3 separate regions of the Homo sapiens genome follow, and all the other regions are linked to region 2. The links are contacts of gene promoters, found by promoter capture Hi-C in human tissues and cell types (Jung and others, 2019). All regions are on one chromosome and are shown on one strand. Each heading gives the region's core, a stretch centred on a gene start or on the middle of the fragment in contact. The rest is flanking DNA. Distances are from core to core; before and after follow the strand shown. Region 1 overlaps SPIDR (scaffold protein involved in DNA repair). Region 2 holds the start of CEBPD (CCAAT enhancer binding protein delta). Region 3 overlaps SPIDR (scaffold protein involved in DNA repair).

Region 1 (4,113 bases), core at 712-3,211, 51 kb before region 2:
ACAGCATAAAAACAAATACCACTTATCCCTCCAGGTTAGTAATTTAACTAGTTAATTTACCTTGCAGCACAGTAAGTCTAGAATTCAGTAAATGGGCAGGGTTTTGTTTTATTCTTTTTTTAAATCATTTCTTCTCTTAAAAATATTTCCCCCACCCTACCCTTCACTGTCCTTCTTACCACAGAAATTATAATTATCTACCAGTAGGAGGTCAGTGGTTTTATTTATTTATTTATTTATTTATTTATTTATTTATTTATTTTTTTGAGACAGTCTCTCTCTGTCGCCCAGGCTGGAGTGCATTGGCAGAGATCAGTGGTTTTAAGACTTTCAGTTTTTGTTTTTCTTTCTTTTTTTTTAATCTCTGCTCACTGCAACCTCCACCTCCCAGGTTCAAGCGATTCTCCTGTCTCAACCTCCCGAATAGCTGGGACTACAGGTGCACACCACCATGCCCAGCTAATTTTTGTATTTTTAGTAGAGACGGGGTTTCACCATGTTGCCAGTATGGTCTCAATCTCTTGACCTCATGATTTGCCCACCTCGGCCTCCCAAAGTGCTGGGATTACAGGTGTGAGCCACCGTACCTGGCCCTGTTTTTCTTTAATAGAAATCTGTTCAGGCACGATGGCTCATACCTGTAATCCCAGCACTTTGGGAGGCCAAGGCAAGAGGATCACTTGGGTGCAGGAGTTCAAGACCAGCCTCGGCAACATCTCGAGACCTGTCTATACACAAGGAAAGGGAGGGAGGGAAGGAAGGAAGCAAGGAGGAGAGAGAAGGGAAGGGGAAGGGGAAGCTTATAAAACAAATTATGTGAAGTTGTTTGTTCTGGAAGGTGGATGAGTTGGGCCACCATGGCTCCCCACCCAGCTCCTTAGGAGTCCAGCAGCATAGTCTGAAAGCATCTGTTGTGGATTAATTGCCCATATAAACATTTCACATGTTCCATAGTTCTTCTTTCTTCCTCTCGGGTTAATAGCTTGCGGCAGTAGTTGCTACCATGGGGACACTGGGTAGCAGTATGATTCAGAAGCAGAATAGAAATGTTCCTGTATTAATCTCAAATAAAAAATCCAAATATTTACTTTAAATATGCTATTATTAGCTGAATTCTCAAAATTGGAAAATCTTACAGATTTGAATTTTGGAAAAAATACTTAAATCTTTATAATTTGCCAAGAAAATCTCTGTTAATACGGGATGCTGAAAGTGGAAAGAAAAGAAAGCTTGAGTGTCACTAGAGTCACTCTATTTTTTCATTTTACCTTCAAACTAGCTAATAAATTAGATCATGGTATTTATTTTTTAGATAAGACCCTGAAGTTCACTGACATTAAGTAATTTGGATCCCTGTATGTGAGCTGGGTCTTAAGACAGGTGCACCAAATTCCAAAGTCTGATTTTCAGTACTACAGCTGACATTTAATTACTTCCAGTTTTAGGGGAATTCATTTCTATAAATTTCTCATTTGTTTTATATTTATAACCCCTGGCCCTCAAAATAAAAATCTGATTATTTCTTGTCAGTGATGTTGATATTAATTTAGATTCTTGGTATTTTCCACTGTTTTTGTTAAACAACAGCAATAAACTATCTATAGTAGGATTGTCTTGAGTAACTAGGAGTATTAAATCCATAGTAAATAATTACACTGCCTGCTTTTGGTTTAGTTAGGGTTCTTTTTTTTTTTCAAAGTTTACTTAGATACTTATTAACAAAAATAATTAGCTTTTAAAAAAGGTTAGTGCAAAAGTAATTGCAGTTTTTACCATTACTTTTAATATCATTACTTTTAGTAGTTTTCATTACTGTTAAATAAAAGCAAGATAATTTACTTCTCTTTCTCAAGCCACCAACAACGGAGTGGGTTGTGATGAAGCCATTGAACCTGGACCATACATTTGTAAAAGGCCTCAGATTAGGACTTTCAGTATGATCCATAAATGTGATAATAATATAGCCACTGTTTTGTTGGTTGTTGCTGTTAACAGAATTAACATAAATTATAACAACAATTTAATAATCTCTCTTTTACCTTTTACCCACTGGATATTTACCCCGGTAAGTAATCTTTCACATCTTTCTCCACGAATGTAGACATATCTATAAACAAAAAGATATGGTTTGCGTTTTTCACTTAATTTCACCAGGATGTCCCTCTCCTGATAGACATTCAGGTTGTTTCTGGTGTTTACCACTTCAAAGCAGTGCTGCAACACACTTCCTTGTATATCTCTGTCTGTATCTCCTGTATGTATTGAGCTTATATTTTAACCTTCTTTACTGTGAAATATAACAAGCATATGAAAGAGGGCATAATTGTAGATTGTAACAAATAATAAGTGAATAAATAAAGCTCACTCATTAAGCCACCACTGTAATTCAATAAACATGGTGGGTATCCAGAAGCCACCTGCTGCCCCTACCCTGATCCTAAAGATCTTCACACTTCTGAGAGTGTTTCCATGTTTTTCTTTACAGTTATACTACTTTTTGTACATCTTTAGAAATATATTTAGGCTGGGCACAGTGGCTCACGCCTGTAATTCCAGCACTTCGGGAGGCCAAGACAGAAGGATCACTTGAGGCCAGGAGTTTGAGACCAGCCTGGGCAACATAGTGAGGCCTTATCTCTACAAAAAGTAAAAAATTAGCCGAGTGTGGTGGTGCACACTTGTAGTCCTAGCTACTTGGGAGGCTGAGATGGGAGAATCACTGGGTGACAGATTGAGACCTGGCTGTCAAAAAAAAAAAGTGTGTGTGTGTGTGTGTGTGTGTGTGTGCATGCGTATAGGTTTACCTGTTTTTGAACTTTATGGAAACAGCATCATGCTTGTGCATTCTTTGTGTTTTGCTTTTTATTTTATTTTATTTATTTATTTTTTGAGACGGAGTCTCTCTCTGTTGCCCAGGCTGGAGTGCAGTGGTGCAATCTTGGCTCACTGCAAGCCCCGCCTCCTGGATTCACACCATTCTTAGTCTCCCTAGTAGCTGGGACTACAGGCGCCCGCCACCATGCCCGGCTAAGTTTTTGTATGTTCAGTAGAGACGGGCTTTTACTGTGTTAGTCAGGATGGTCTCGATCTCCTGACCTCGAGATCCGCCCGCCTCGGCCTCCCAAAGTGCTGGGATTACAGGCGTGAGCCACCACGCCCGGCCGTGTTTTGCTTTTTTTGCTCACTAGAGATGCCGCGGCCCCAGCTGCACACAAAAGGACCCTGGTGTGGGGGACCCTTACAAAAGAGGACGGAAACAACATAGTTTTAAACCAATAAACCTTGTAAGTTTCTTCTGTCTATTGCAGGTAGCTCCGGTTTATTCGTTTTCATTCCATTTTATGCATTTACCATAGTCTCTTTGTTCATGCAGTTGTTCTAGGCATTTCCGACCACTGCTGGCAGCGGCAGGAGCCCTTGCTGTGTATCCCCTAGGGCACAGGTGTGCACATCGTGGGGGTGGGGTGTTCCTCACCTTCAATGGATAGTGCTAAACTGTCTTCCAGGAGCGGAGTTCAGCCTCCATTTCTGTTAGCATAGTAGAGTTCCTGCTGCTCTGCTGTCTTTCCATTATTTGGTACACTTAGGTGTCTTTTTCATTATCTTTTTTCTGGCCTGCATTTTTTTCAAACTGGTAGATCTGTAGTGGAATTCACTGTGGTTTAAATTCCAGTTCCTGATTACCGCTGAGGCTGAGAGCCTTTTGCTGTGTATTTCCATTTGTGTTTCCACTTTGATGAAGTGCTGTTCAAGTCTTTTGTTTATTTTTCTTTTGGGGTGTTGAGCTTTATATATTCTGAGTAGTAGTCCTTCATTGGTTGTGTATAATTTATGTGTTGTAGGTGGCTTGTCTTTTTATCGGCAGAAGTACCAATTTTTGGAGGGGGAGCGGATAGCATTCCCAAAGTGGGACTGCCTGGCCAGAGTATGTAACTGGACTTGTTTTCATGACCCCCAGGCAGGGCCGCAGGAAGCATCAAGTGTTTTTGAAATGGCTTCTGGACCCATAGCTCTCCCGGGTTGGTTGGCTTACCTTTAACCAGAACACTCCCAGCAGAGGCTATGGGTCTGTGTCTCCTTCAGGTAAAATGAGATTAACTTGAGTACCAAGGG
Region 2 (4,475 bases), core at 1,898-4,397:
GCATCGTGTCCCAAGTAAAAACAATTCAGTTACCAGAATGGGGTAGTTCCTTCACTTGCTAAAATAAATGGGTGTGTGGGTGTGTGTGTGTGTGGGTGTGTGTGTGTGTGTGTGTGTGTAGTGGCTCTTCATTTGTTTCTCCTTCCTACCACTGTTCTCAGCCATTTGAGGAGTGGAAGGTCGTGGACTGGGGAAAGGGCCTTCCACTCTGGCTCTCTGGTTTTCCGTGTTGTTGGGAACAGTACGTCCCAGGCTGTTTGCTTTAACCAGCGTGCCTTTTATCACTGCAGAGCTACGAAGTGAAGAGTGTCCTCGGAAAGGAAGTGGGGTTGTTAAATTGTTTTGTCCAGTCCGTAACCGCCCACCCGACCAGCTGCATTGGATTGGAGGAAATCGAGCTTCTGAGTGCAGGAGGGGCCTCTGCAGAACACTAGCGGTTGCCGCAGGATCTGTGAACTTTGCAATGTGGCTGCAAGGGTGGTGGTGGTGGTGGTGATTTGGGGTAGTTATTTGTTAACTATGGACACAGTGAACGTAGTTTACGATCTTGAAATGAAACTTAGATTTTTCTGGGGAAATGTTCAGATACAGTTTTGTGAACTGTAAATCAAAATACCTTTTTCTACAGTTTATCTTTTATTTTCTGCAAATTTAGGAACATATTTACTCGTTTTCACATTGAATCTTAAGTTTAAGCTCTTCATTTGGTATTTAGGCAATATATGAGAAAAAAATTTTTTTTGTTCATTTGTAATTTTAACAAGTTGAACATTTTACCATGATTGAACATGTTTTTATTACAGTATTTAACATTCCCCCAAAGAATACCCTGCAAAGTGTAAACCTTTGTCCCATACTGTGATATTACTGTTCTGCTACAATAAATGTCAAACCTAAGCACTTTGCAGTTCACTACTTTTGGGAAAATGTTCTAGGGAACTGTATCACAGGTGAAACTGTTACCCATAAAGTGTAGCTCTCTGAACTGGTGTGATCGTGTCTCTGCTGAATGGTGGTGGGGATAGCTGGCTCCACCACACACACCTGTTTTAATTAGGCTGGGTAATGTGCACGGAGAGCAAAGATCACAGACTAAGGAGCAGTCAGTCGGATATTTGCTTTGCTGGCAAAGATTTAAACCAAGAATTAATTATCTTTGGACACTATAAAGATTTTGTTCCCTTCCTTATAGCAATATAATCATGACAGGCCATGGTTAACTACATCAGATACACGTAGCAGCCGTGACCAAGACATGGTGCCCTAATACCAAGTGTTCTTGGGTTAAAGGCAGGCGGCTTTTTAATTAAATCTTAAAGCACTGCAATTACTGGCAAGACAGCTGGTCTTAAGCAGTTTTGTGACTGCCCTTTTCATCCACTACATGACTATTCCGGCCTTTCTGGAGCACTTTTGAAAATCTACTTGACTCTGTCCACAAGACTGAGGAAAGTGAAAGCAAAGTCCCGGGAAAGCGGGAGATGATTCAGCCCGGGGTTCTGCCCCTCGCCCCTCCAGCAGCCTCTACAGTTAGGGAGCTCTTGAACTGTTCTCAGCAGGGGCCCCCAAAAAGTCAACCCTTCCCCAGGTCTGCGTTCTTCGGGAGAACACCTTCTGCTGGAAAGCTGCTAGCTTACCTGAGCTCAGCCGTGCTCCACCTAGCTTAGGCAAGTTAAATAAGGCCAGGAGAGAGCCTTTAATGCGTTTTAAAAGCGACAGACCCTCTCTCCTGAGTAGCTCGGGCCTGCGCCCCATCCCCCCGCCCCCCCCACACACACACCTGGCGCCCGGGCTCCCTGGTGCTCGCTGGCTGCGGGTCCGGAACGCACCCTTCCCGAGCCGGGTCCTGCGCCACCGGCGGGCGGGCGGGAGTCACTGCGAATATAGGAAGCAGGGGCGATTTCAAATGCTGCTTTATTCTTACAAATACTGTAAAAATTAATATAAAAAAGTGAGCATGCTCAGTCTTTTCCTCTTATCTACAATACAAAGGGTTTGTCTGAAAAGTCTGGTTTTTTTTCTTTTTACAAATGTACCTTAGCTGCATCAACAGGAGTAAGATGTAGAAAAAGCTACCATTACAAAAATAATTTAAGGGAAAATAAACACGTTTAGCTTCTCTCGCAGTTTAGTGGTGGTAAGTCCAGGCTGTAGCTTCTTTGCGCTCCTATGTCCCAAGAAACTGCAGCGGGCACCCGGCGGCTCTGGCTGCGCCAGGGCAGGGCGCGCTCCGCTCCGGGCCGTCGGGTCTGAGGTATGGGTCGTTGCTGAGTCTCTCCCGCCCCGGCCGCGCGTTACCGGCAGTCTGCTGTCCCGGCGGCCGGCAGGAAGGGCGGGCTGGGCAGCTGCTTGAAGAACTGCCGGAGGCCGGCCAGGTCCCGCGTGAGCTGCTCCACGCGCTGGTGCAGCTTCTCGTTCTCAGCCGACAGCTCCACCAACTTCTGCTGCATCTCCTGGTTGCGCCGCTTGGCCTTGTCGCGGCTCTTGCGCACGGCGATGTTGTTGCGCTCGCGCCGCTGCCGGTACTCGGGGCTGCCGCGGTCCGGGCCCCTCTTGCCGGCGCTCTTCTCCCGGGCGGGGCCGGGCGCGGGGGTCTGCCTGGGGCTGCTGCGCGGCGGCTCCGGCGACGTGGGCGGGGTGGGCTGCCCTGCGGCCGCCAAGCTCACCACGGTCTGTGCGCACGCGGCCACCTGCGCGGGCAACAGCGAGCCGGGCGCGTCGCCGTCGCCCCAGTCGGGCTCGCGCTTGAGCAGGCGGGGAGCGGCAGGGCCCGGGCCCAAGGGGCGCGCGGGGCCGCCGGGAAGAAGCTCCAGGGGCCCCGCGCCGCCCGCCTTGTGATTGCTGTTGAAGAGGTCGGCGAAGAGCTCGTCGTGGCACAGCTCCAGGGTGGGCACGGCGGCCATGGAGTCGATGTAGGCGCTGAAGTCGATGGCGCTCTCGTCGTCGTACATGGCGGGGGCGGCGGCGCCTGGCTCGCCTAGGGCCCCTGGCTCGGCCCCGCGGCCCGGCTTGCCCGCCCGGCCCGGTTCGTAGAAGGGCGCAGGCTCCGCAGGCCAGGGCGCGCCGCGCGCCGGGCCGTCCAGGCTGAAGAGCGCGGCGCTCATGGCGGCGTCGGGCCGGGCTCTGCGTCCAAGCGAGGCTGTCACCTCGCTGGGCCCAGCCCCGCCGCCTTTTCTAGCCCCGGCTGACGTGCACGCCCCGCCCCGACTCCGGCACCGCGGGGGCGCCCCGGGGCCGCGGGGGAAGGGGCGGGGGCGCCCTGGGAGCCCCCCGGAGCCGCCCCGAGCCTTCCCGGGGCGCGCCCCCTCTCAGTTCCTCCCCGGGGCCCCCTCCCCGGCCCTGGGGACCCCCAGCCCACGTTGCAGGAGGGTGCCCGCGCTGCTGCTCCCTCCCCGGCCCGGGCCGGCCTGCGCTGCGCTGCTGGGAATGACACTCCCTCTGCCAGCACTCCAGGGCCTTCTCTTCTTCCTGTTTGTGGGCTTGGAACCTCCTCGCTCCTCGGGGTTGGGAGTGAAATCAAAACCAGGACTTGGCCGCAGCGCGCGCGTCCCAGGCCGGCTCCTGTCGCCGGAGGGCGGGGGGTGGAGACCCGTGGGAGAGGACCCGCGCGTCCAAGGACGCCCCCCGACCGTGGGCACGCGCGTGAGGCCCTCGCCCCGCGCCTCCACCGTGGGACCAGATGCGGGAAGAGGCGTGGGGGACCAGACGTGGGGACAGCGGCGGCCTGGCAGGCGGGGAGGGCTGCCCGCACCGCACTCGGGCGCCTCGGGGAATCCGGGCCGGTTCTCGCTGCTCTCCTCGGAGGTCCCGGGTCCGGCCGGCCCTGGGGGTCGAGGCCCAGAGACGCGGCTGCTGCGTCCTGGCCGAAAGGCCGACGGGACGCTGTCGCCAAAAGCAGAGCAGATGGGGGAGACGCGGTCACGACACCGCGTCCTCCGCCGGCTCCTCGAGGTGCGGGCTCTCCGGCCGGACGCTACTCCCCGACCCCGCAGACCCGGGCGTCCGCCGCCAGCTCCCGCGCCCGCGTTTCTTCCAGGTCTACGGAAGCAGTGCCATCGTGTGGCGGCATCTTGCGTTAGACCTGTTTTTAGTTCCAGGCTCTTTCCCTGTTAAATATTCCAAAAAAGTGCCTTGAACCTAAAGTAGTTGGGTCCTTTTTGGGAAACAGGTAAGATCTACCAGTAGCTATAGCAGGGTGCAGATGGGCCTCGACTCACGATGGGGTTACATCCCGGTAGACCCATCGCACACTGAAAATGTCTTAAGTAAGAATGGGCTTTGTCATGTGTCCTGCAATTTGAGGCAGGCATTTCTGGTCAGACCCATTTATTATTTTAAATTAAAAATATGGTTTTTTTCAGCCGAGCACAGTGGCTCATGCCGGTAATCCCAGCATTTTGGGAGGCTGAGGTGGGCGGATCACTTGAGGTCAGGAGTTTGAAACCAGCCTGGTCAACATGGTGAAACCCCATTTC
Region 3 (4,002 bases), core at 71-2,570, 34 kb before region 2:
GTAGAAGTGGGAATCTCAGGATCGAGCTCAGCTACTTCTGGGAACTTTTAGAGCCTTCAAAACTGAAAGCCCCCCCATCCCACCTCCATGGTCCCTGTGAGGCCTTGGGCTGTTCTAGGGAGCAGTGGCCTAGAGGAGCTTGCTATCAATCAACTAGGAGTAGAGGAGGGAAGGAGACCTGCTTGCCAGTTTGAATGCATGGACTACATTCTGCTAGAAACCTCTGCCAGCCCTTACCTTATGGAGGAATATCCATGTAGATCTAATCACCCAAGAGGGATTGAGAACATCCTGTTTGTTAAACTCTTGTCCACTCATGGGCAATGTGCACCGGGTGCATCTGCCATGGTGCAGGAGAGAGTGAGTGCCCCACACATTGCCTCCTTGAGGGTGTGTATGAGTGGAGCAAACCAGGCCCCAGATGCCTGCACTCACCTGGGCTGTCGGTGGATCACCAGCTACCAGCCAGGCCAGAATACTCAGGAATTGCCCAGCAAGCAGTCTCAAGGGAGGGCAGGAGGCTGGCACCTTGGCCAGCAACCTCGGCCAGGTGCCCCAGTGCACCACGAGTCGGGGGACAGTGGTGGGGGTGGCACCAGGGGCTGTCTTCTAATCATACTATGCCTGGTTATCAAGATCTGACACTCACACCCCTCACTTTTCTTTTTGTTGCTGAAGTATGCTAAAGCACACCCAGACCTCATGCCATTTCACCCCGACACGCTTGTTAGGAATCTCTTCAAAGCATTCATGGTTGCATACAACCCAATTCAGCTGCCTGGTTTTGGAGCCTTTCTCTTCCGCTTAAGTTATCCAGAGTTATTTTCTGTTGTGCATTTATTTTGAACAAATTCTTTGCATTTCTCTGATCATTCTTCGACAGTGGAAGAATAAGAGAGTGACTAAAAGAATATGTTTCATAACTTCTAGTCAAGTTCTTGATGAATTGCATATATACGAGTATCATTAAATCAGTGTTATCACAAGCATGTTAAATCAACTTCTCTTCCATCTGCATCAGGGGTAGTGGGCAGACTGTTTCTGTAAAGAGCCAGATAGTCAATATTTTAGGCTTCTTGGGTTGTATGGTTTTCATAGCAACTACTCAGCTCCACCTTGCAGTGCAAAAGCAGCCATGTTGTCATTCACAAATGAATGAGCAGGGCTGTGTTTCAGAAACCTTTATTTACAGACACCAAAATTTGAATTTAACTTAATTTTTACTTGTCACAAAATATTCTTACGGTTTTTTAACCATTTAAAAATGTAAGAACCTTGAATAAACATAAAAACCATACTTAGCTTACAGGCCTAGCCCACAGGCCATGGTTTGCTGACGTTCTTCAGGTGCTGAGCATGGCTGGAGGACACAGGAACTCTGACGCAGAAAGAAAAACAACCCAAGTGTCTCCTGGTGTCCCGTAGGTTGTACTGAATGCACAGTGCGGTGTGTGTCAGGGAGAGGAGACGGGGAGGGCCATCTACTGACGGCCACCGAGTAGGATGCAAGCTTGTTACCTAAGGATGCCATAGGTGCTGCGCAAGAACACAGCGCTGATACATATGATCGTCATATGAAAGTACTTTAAGGCTTTATCTCAATTTAATTTTTACATTTCAGATGTAAGGAGTGTGCTTTAGGTGATATGTTAGTAACTGTCAATTGCGTTTCCTTTCCTTCTCTGCAGAAAGTGTGTGTGTGTTTCTGCAGCTTAACCTGTGGATTAGCTAGTGCTTGCCAGCACATAGAGTCTTGCCCACAGAAAGGAAATCAGAGGGCTGAGTTGTGAATATAAACGAACCACATTTAGCTCTTTATTTTTTATTATCAATACTTCACCACCTTTAATTCTGTCAGAGATTTTTCAGATTTTCAAACCATTCTCATGTACATATCATTTTATCTCAGCAGCAATAGTGTCACTGTTCCTAATTCCAAGTGGAGAAGACCAAGGCTAGGCCTGGTTATCTGCTGTCTCTGATACACACAACCAAACCCTGGTGGAGCCTGGTGTGGGTTTCCTGACTCTTACTCAGCCCAGTGTCCCCTGGTGCTTCCTGGCTCCACGGTCCCTCAGTTACCTGGTGCCCTGGGGGTGGGGCAGGGACGCAACACACCCCCACCCCCAACCACATGCTGACTGAGCTTGTGCAGGTACTTCACCGCGTTGTCTCATGTCCTTGTCTGTCAAATGGGTGTAACATTCTCTCACCATATTGGATTGTTCTAGGATGAATTTAGGAGTTTTGAAATACCCTTTTTCCTTTGTTTTCTCTTCATCTGTTCCCCTTTTCATCATTTGACAGCTGATCAGTGCCTCTCATGAAGAAATGGAGAATGATTGGCATGAGTCCCTCAGTGGTGCTCCCTGTGAGCACCCCAGTGTCCGGCTCAGGAGATAGGAGGATAGGGCTCCCAGCAAGGACGAGGCAGGGCACGTGCTATGTCCCATACTTTCCAAGCCTGAGGAGACCTAAGACTGACTTCACGCTCCTCTGCCTACCTTGAGAGGGGTCAGTGTGTGTAGGGATGCCCCTGGCATCTGGCACATTCCTGCTCTTCTGGGTCATGGGCCAGGCGGTGGCTCTCTGTGCAGGTGCCTTTCACCCATAGGGAGAATGCTGTCCTCAGAGCAGCCACGTGGCAGTTGCAGCTAACACTCCTGCCCACGGCCCTCTGGCTGAGACCGAGGTTGAAAGTAAAGAAAGCAGGTGTCAAAATGCTTGCACCAAAGCCAGTTGGAGGGGAGCTCTGGGGCAGAGAAAGACCAAGAGTGAAGCAGGTCATCCACCTTGCCCTGTGAAGGGGTCCTCCCTCAGGGAGGTAGAGAAGATAATGTTAATCCCCTCCTATCCAAGAAACAGGCTCCCACCAGTGCCAAGTGCAGCTTTCAGTGAGCATGGCTTCCAGTGGGCATGTGTGCCTAGGAATCAGTAGTCCTATAGCCACAAAACAGTCAAAGACCTGGAACCCAATGGAACAGGTTCCATGATCCACTGAAATTCTGTCTGTCTCCTATAGTCTGCTTTTGTGTGTAAAAGAATCACCAGAAACCAGCTGTCTCAAGAAGGAATAGAAATAAGCTGACTCCTGGGGCCAGTCCGTAGTTAAGCCAGTGGCCTGCATCCTTGGCAGTGAGGGTTGACTTTCAGAATGGCACCATGAGTCATTGCTGGAACTCCAGTCATAAAAACAGACCCAGACTAGGCGTGGTGGCTCACGCCTGTCATCCTAGCACTTTGGGAGACTGAGGCTAGAGGATCTCTTGAGGCCAGGAGTTCCAGACCAACCTGGTCAACAAAGCACGACCCCGTCTCTACAAAAAAATTAAAAATTAGCCAGGCATGGTGCTGCATGCCTATCATCTCAGCTACTTGGGAGGCTGACATGGGAGGATCCCTTGAGCCCAGGAGGTTGCTGCAGTGAGCTGTGATTGCACCACTCCACTCCAGCCTGGCTGACAGAGTGAGACCCTGTCTCAAAAAAAAAAAAAGCAGATTCAGTTGTATTTCCGTTACACTAATGACTAAGTCATGAAGGTGAAAAAGATAGTTTTCATATTTAACTTTTATTTTGTAATAATTATAGTTTCACAGTAGATTGCAAAGAAATACACGGGGGGTCTGGTGCACCCCTCCACCCCCATGTCAATATCCCACACCCACAGTAACCACAGTAAAAACCAAAACCAGCTGGGCGCGGTGGCTCACACCTGTAATCCCAGAACTTTGGGAGGCCAAGGCGGGTGGATCACAAGGTCAGGAGATTGAGACCATCCTGGCTAACATGGTGAAACCCTGTCTCTACTAAAAATACAAAAAAATTAGCCGGGCGTGGTGGCAGGCGCCTGTAGTCCCAGCTACTTGGGAGGCTGGGGCGGGAGAATGGTGTGAACCTGGGAGGCGGAGCTTGCAGTGAGCCAAGACCACGCCACTGCACTCCAGCCTGGGCGACAGAGTGAGACTCTGTCTCAACAACAACAACAACAAAAAACAAGAAAC

What was found. The method cuts DNA at HindIII sites, captures the fragments that hold promoters and counts their contacts. A contact is called where the count stands out against the background at its distance.
Region 1: a fragment that was not itself captured here is called in contact with the fragment with the promoter of CEBPD in region 2 in 2 of the 25 tissues and cell types used here (aorta and lymphoblastoid cells).
Region 3: a fragment that was not itself captured here is called in contact with the fragment with the promoter of CEBPD in region 2 in 4 of the 25 tissues and cell types used here (adrenal gland, bladder, mesenchymal stem cells and 1 more).

Annotation. Positions count from the first base shown.
Region 1 is chr8:47,685,259-47,689,371 of GRCh38, forward strand. All of the region lies in intron 11 of SPIDR (scaffold protein involved in DNA repair), which reads left to right. Among named protein-coding and RNA genes, the nearest start is that of CEBPD, 51 kb to the right of the region's middle. The HindIII fragment of the contact is 4,038 bases long and covers 1-3,980 here.
Region 2 is chr8:47,735,017-47,739,491 of GRCh38, forward strand. It overlaps CEBPD (CCAAT enhancer binding protein delta), which reads right to left and starts at 3,148. Exons shown (of 1, transcript NM_005195.4): 1 at 1,897-3,148. The coding sequence starts at 3,104. The coding sequence ends at 2,295. It overlaps SPIDR (scaffold protein involved in DNA repair), which reads left to right. Exons shown (of 20, transcript NM_001080394.4): 20 at 291-1,290. The coding sequence ends at 434. RefSeq lists an enhancer at 2,172-3,110 and silencers at 2,507-2,696, 3,187-3,296, 3,337-3,416, 3,507-3,976. The HindIII fragment of the contact is 24,041 bases long and covers 1-4,475 here.
Region 3 is chr8:47,702,420-47,706,421 of GRCh38, forward strand. All of the region lies in intron 14 of SPIDR (scaffold protein involved in DNA repair), which reads left to right. Among named protein-coding and RNA genes, the nearest start is that of CEBPD, 34 kb to the right of the region's middle. The HindIII fragment of the contact is 6,895 bases long and covers 1-4,002 here.